2 separate regions of the Homo sapiens genome follow, and region 1 is linked to region 2. Evidence: promoter capture Hi-C in human tissues and cell types (Jung and others, 2019). All regions are on one chromosome and are shown on one strand. The core of a region is centred on a gene start or on the middle of the fragment in contact, and the rest is flanking DNA. Distances in the headings are between cores, read along the strand shown. Region 1 overlaps TRPC6 (transient receptor potential cation channel subfamily C member 6). Region 2 holds the start of MMP1 (matrix metallopeptidase 1).

The links. Contacts are between HindIII fragments. The study calls those that stand out against the background at their distance.
Region 1: a contact is called between a fragment that was not itself captured here and the fragment with the promoter of MMP1 in region 2, in 1 of the 25 tissues and cell types used here (hippocampus).

The regions. Positions count from the first base shown.
Region 1 is chr11:101,498,096-101,500,949 of GRCh38, forward strand. All of the region lies in intron 2 of TRPC6 (transient receptor potential cation channel subfamily C member 6), which reads right to left. Among named protein-coding and RNA genes, the nearest start is that of MIR3920, 20 kb to the right of the region's middle. The HindIII fragment of the contact is 3,753 bases long and covers 1-2,854 here.
Region 2 is chr11:102,796,909-102,799,814 of GRCh38, forward strand. MMP1 (matrix metallopeptidase 1) reads right to left here and starts at 1,252. Exons shown (of 10, transcript NM_002421.4): 1 at 1,080-1,252; 2 at 348-592; 3 at 106-254. The coding sequence starts at 1,184. It also overlaps the pseudogene WTAPP1. The HindIII fragment of the contact is 22,607 bases long and covers 1-2,906 here.

The DNA of each region.
Region 1 (2,854 bases), core at 6-2,505, 1.3 Mb before region 2:
CTGTTGTCCCTTATTTGAATTAAAACTCAAGTCAAGGAGAGAAAGCAAGAGTTTTTGCTGTCCTTCTTTGGTATCAAAACCAGTCAAAGTTTTGGGTTTTCTGTTTTTTACTGACTTTGTGTTGCCAAAATTGTCTTAACCCAATTTTAAGCTTAAGATGGCTGAGGTCTCATGCTACCAAAGCCTAAAACTATTTATAAAGATTCAATATAAAAACTGAATTTGAATGGGTAAAAATTGTATTAATGTTTTCTCCCATTTTCTTTAAAAACCTGCAACTCCCCAACATCTCTTGGTTTTCTTCTTGTTCCTGTGGCTCCATCTAATTGTTAGATTTCTCTGCTGAGGTCTCGTGTCACCTCTGCTTGGAACCAGCTATACATGTGGTGATATGAGTAACAAAACACTTAGGCCTAGAAGGTTCAAGGCACAGGATAAAACTGCCTCAGAAACCCAGTAACGTCTCCCATGGTCTCTTTTGTTAATGTACTATGGGTTATTGTAGTAGGGGACAGTTTGGAAGGTGCTTAGAAAAGCAAGCTATGTATTGGAGCTTACAAAATCGTTATGAAAAGTCCCATTCTCTGTCATAAAATAGATTAATCGTCTTCAAACAGAGGTACATTAATACTTTCCAAGTGGCTGTAGAATATGGATAATTTTTAGGGAATCAATTTGCAGATCTCCACTTTCCTAAAATGGATTTCCTTGAAAATACATCTTTTGCTCGCCCACCCACCCATGTAGCAAGCAAGAGAGAGTCCCCCTTTAAACAACAGAGAGTCCCCCTTTTACAGTATCCAGCTACTATAAACCCTGAAGGGCTTCCCTGAATAAATACACATTTCTGCTGAAGATGAAGCTTAATGATAGAAATGCAGCACCTTGGCTCATGTTGGGATGTTCTGATTTCAGATGGACAGTGCAGGGTGGAGACAGAAACAAGGGCCATTTTTTATGACTTTGCCTCTTCATTTGCCAACAATTGTCAAAGAATGAACGCTTCTTGAGTGAGAGTCCAGAAAAAGTTAAGCAAAGACAGCATCAGCAGGGAATACTGAATACCAAACAATGCTTTGTCATGTATTGAAATGTAAATGATTCCTTATATTATTCTTAATATCTTTCAGATGTATCATTCACTAGAAAAGTATCTCAAACAGGCAAGGCAGAAAAGCTTAGTGAGAGTGATTCTTTTAAATGTGACTTGGAATGGTTTGCAGAACTCAAAATTTTTACAGGAAAATGGTCAAAGCCCATGGATGAAATTTTATGTGATTTCTTTCTGATTTAGAATTTTAATCTAGTAAGATAGTTATCAAATCATATCTAGAAATATTTATTCCTACTACTATTTATCCTTTTTTAATTTTATTCCATAAAACCTTTAATAATTTATATATCCTATCAACAAAGACTAAAATAACATACTGGCTGCCATACCAACTAATTTTTAGCTACATATATATACATAAATGGTGTATATATACGTATATATATACGTATATATGGTATATATATATACACACACAATATAAAATGTGTATATATATATATACACAATATAAAATGTGTATATATATATACACAATATAAAATGTGTATATATATATACACATTTTATATTGTGTATATGTGTATATATATATACACAATATATAATGTGTATATATATATATACACAGTATAAAATGTGTATATATATATACACAGTATAAAATGTGTATATATATATACACAGTATAAAATGTGTATATATATATACACAGTATAAAATGTGTATATATATACACAGTATAAAATGTGTATATATATACACAGTATAAAATGTGTATATATATACACAGTATAAAATGTGTATATATATACACAGTATAAAATGTGTATATATGTATACACAGTATAAAATGTGTATATATATACGCAATATAAAATGTGTATATATATACAATATAAAATATGTGTGTGTGTATATATATATATACACACACACAATTTTTCTTTCCTTAAATATATAGCCAAAGTGTGAACATGATGAGTACCACTAAAAAATACATCCAATAAGAATTGTGTCACATAGTTAAAATTTATTTTTCAAAATGTGTATTTTTTTTCTTTCTTTTTTTTTTTTGAGACGGAGTCTTGTTCTGTTGCCCAGACTGGAGTGCGGTGGCGCAATCTCAGTTCGCTGCAACCTCCGCCTCCCAGGTTCAAGTGATTATCCTGCCTCAGCCTCCTGCGTAGCTGGGATTACAGGTGTGTGCCATCATGCCCAGCTAATTTTTTTGTATTTTTAGTAGAGACAGGTTTCACCATGTTGGTCAGACTGGTCTCAAACTCCTGACCTCATGATCCACCCACCTCGGCCTCCCAAAGTGCAGGGATTCCAGGTGTGAGCCACCATTCTCGGCCCATATTAATTATTTTTAACAGCTGGGTTGATTTTTGTAGTTTTTGATCTAATATACTAATAATAGATATAAAGACAACTCTTTCCAGAGTATTTTCAATATCCAGAGCCTTTTAGCAAGAGGAAATGAAACAAATTCTAAAATTTCATATATATGTGTGTGTTATATGTATTTTATTTATATATGATATACATGTTGATATCTATATAAAGGGATTTTAAGAGACTTTACAATAATAAAAGCTATAATATGAGGAATCACATTTATGAAGGAAATTGGACTGAAAATATAACCTCAAGGAGTAAAAGGAAAGATGCAGCTATTCTGAACATTAAAGAAGATGTTGTTCGCTTAGTTGATGGTGGGCATGAAATCATTACAGCATTTAGAGTCCTTTGCATATATCTGAAGGAGAATTGAAGAGTTCTATTCTTAAATGGCAA
Region 2 (2,906 bases), core at 2-2,501:
CTTCGAGCCCATAAAATCAACATTCATCTTAAACAATCAATTCCAGTTGCAAAGCTACGAGATCTAGGGGCAAGGTGAGGTTAAGGTGCTATAAGAAGAACTTACCTCCCCTGACAAAAGATATCATGATGTCTGCTTGACCCTCAGAGACCTTGGTGAATGTCAGAGGTGTGACATTACTCCAGAGTTGGAAGGCTTTCTCAATGGCATGGTCCACATCTGCTCTTGGCAAATCTGGCGTGTAATTTTCAATCCTTAGAATGAAACAAAATAGAGACACATTGGACATGACTTCTTACCACTGTCATGGGAAATAGCTCTCTCACTCTGGCCCTCAGTCTGCCTACCTGTAGGTCAGATGTGTTTGCTCCCAGCGAGGGTTCCCCTCAGTGAGGACAAACTGAGCCACATCAGGCACTCCACATCTGGGCTGCTTCATCACCTTCAGGGTTTCAGCATCTGGTTTCCCAGTCACTTTCAGCCCAAAGAATTCCTGCATTTGCTTCAATTTTTCAACCACTGGGCCACTATTTCTCCGCTTTTCAACTTGCCTCCCATCATTCTTCAGGTTGTAGTATTTTTCCAGGTATTTCTGACAAAAGAAAATTATCGAAACACTGCATGGGAAATCTTTCTCATTATTCTAAAAATTGATGGCATTAAGTTTTAGCCAAAACAGAGAACTGCTTTTAAACCTTGTGTTTAGATTTCGCAGTTGCTTTTATCCTTATTTTTGGTGAGAAATGAAATTTCAGAGTAGAAATGTCCCTACTATTAGTTATTGTGAAGTAAGAACTTCATAGTAGAGCAATTTTTGTAGAGCAAGATTTGCATACTGTTACAAGTCTACAATTTGTGGAGACAAGTTTGGATGTTGTTCCTTTAGTTCACTCTCACCTCCAACTGGAAAAAGAGAGCGTATGCATGGCTAGATACATTTTGGGTGGAGGGTGCTGTTTCTAGCAAAAAAAAAAAAAATCTCTTTATAAGAAACCTATCCTTAAAAAACTCTATTACATTACTGCAGAAAAATACAAACTAAAAATTTACATTATTGTCACATGCAATGCAGCATTTACCTGGACTAAGTCCACATCTTGCTCTTGTGTTTCTAGAGTCGCTGGGAAGCTGTGAGACACCACACCCCAGAACAGCAGCAGCAGCAGTGGAGGAAAGCTGTGCATACTGGCCTTTGTCTTCTTTCTCAGTGCAAGGTAAGTGATGGCTTCCCAGCCTCTTGCTGCTCCAATATCCCAGCTAGGAAGCTCCCTCTGTATATATAGAGTCCTTGCCCTTCCAGAAAGCCAGAGGCTGTCTGACTCATGCTTTATAACATCCTCTTGATTAGCTATGAATAGACTAGGCAATCATTAGAAATGGTGACTCCTAGCAGATTATTTGGAATCACTTGGTGTTGCAATGTCATGATTAACTTCAAACAAGATGTGTGCGAAGGAGACACACTCTGCCATGTAAACAGTGGTTTTCTCCAATTCATTTCTTTCCTATTTGAGAAAGGTTCTTGTTATATACACAGGTCAAAGAGTACTCCATGGTCTTTTTGAAAAAGACTGGTTCTGATGGTCATAAAGTGCTACAGGTTTCTCCACACACCTTGCTCCCAGGGCAGAGGGTGGAATTACTAACACTGCGCACCTGATGGCTGTTCGGCACCTGTACTGACTGAAGTTCAGCTCCCCCAGCACTCACTTTACGGTGGCTCTTCGGGGTTCTCTGAGGTTCCCTTCTGCCTTTGTTAAGCTGCCTGGTACCCTATTGCGATAGCACCATGGCTTCCCTTAATCTTTACTCAGAGCCAGGCATGGTGGCTCAAGCCTATAATCCCAGAATTTCAGGAGGCCGAGGCAGGGGAATCACTTGAGCCCAGGAGTTCAAGATCAGCCTGGGCAACATGGTGAGACCCCATCTCTGTAAAAAACAAACAAACAAACAAACATTTTTTAAAGTTAGCCAAGCATGGAGTCATGCACCTGTAGTCCTAGTCACTGAAGAGGCTGAGGTGGGAGGATCACTTGGGCCTGGGAGGTTGAGGCTGCATTGAGCTGTGATTGTGCCGCTGCACTCCAGCCTAGGCAACAGAGAGGGACCCTGTCTAAAATAAAATTTGAAAAAATTTACTCAGGCCTAGGATTTAAGAGCCTTACCTGAGAAGACCCCTCATCCACAGGCGGAGTATGAGATAACTCCCCACCCCTTGCCCATCATTATCATGGGACAAATAGGATCCTTCCCTGAAACTTGTCTGAATGTACCGGATGATGAAAAGGCTGGAAAGAGACTGAGCGTGACTCTGGGGTCTTATTTTTAATCATACTTGTTTCCCTTGATATGAGTCTATCTTCGCTCCTTGGTGCTAGGCAGCATTTATTTATTCTTTCATGTATGCATTCATTCATATATTTATGCATTCCTCCATTCAAAAGATCTTATTTAGCATCTCCTGCCCATTAAAATAAATACATGGCTCTGTAATGAAAGATGTGTATTCCTGTACTTATGTTCCACATTAAATTGTCTTGGGTACTGGTGACCGGTGTCACCAGTGCTATCTGTAGCATTCCTGGTAAGAAAAGTTGGTTTATCTCTGTAGCTCCCCTACTCATGCCCCACTCTCCTTCCTTGGAAGCATTTATTGAAAACATACAGTGGAGAAACACTGGCCTGTTTTATCACTTCAGCACCTTATGGTGTCTCCCACCTTTCCCACTGTATCAGGTTTGCTTTTCAACACTTTCCTCCCCTTATGGATTCCTGTTTTCTTTCTGCGTCAAGACTGATATCTTACTCATAAACAATACTTCAGTATATCTTGGATTGATTTGAGATAAGTCATATCCTTTCTAATTATTTAACTACAATTTCCTCATCTAAGTGGCATAACATGT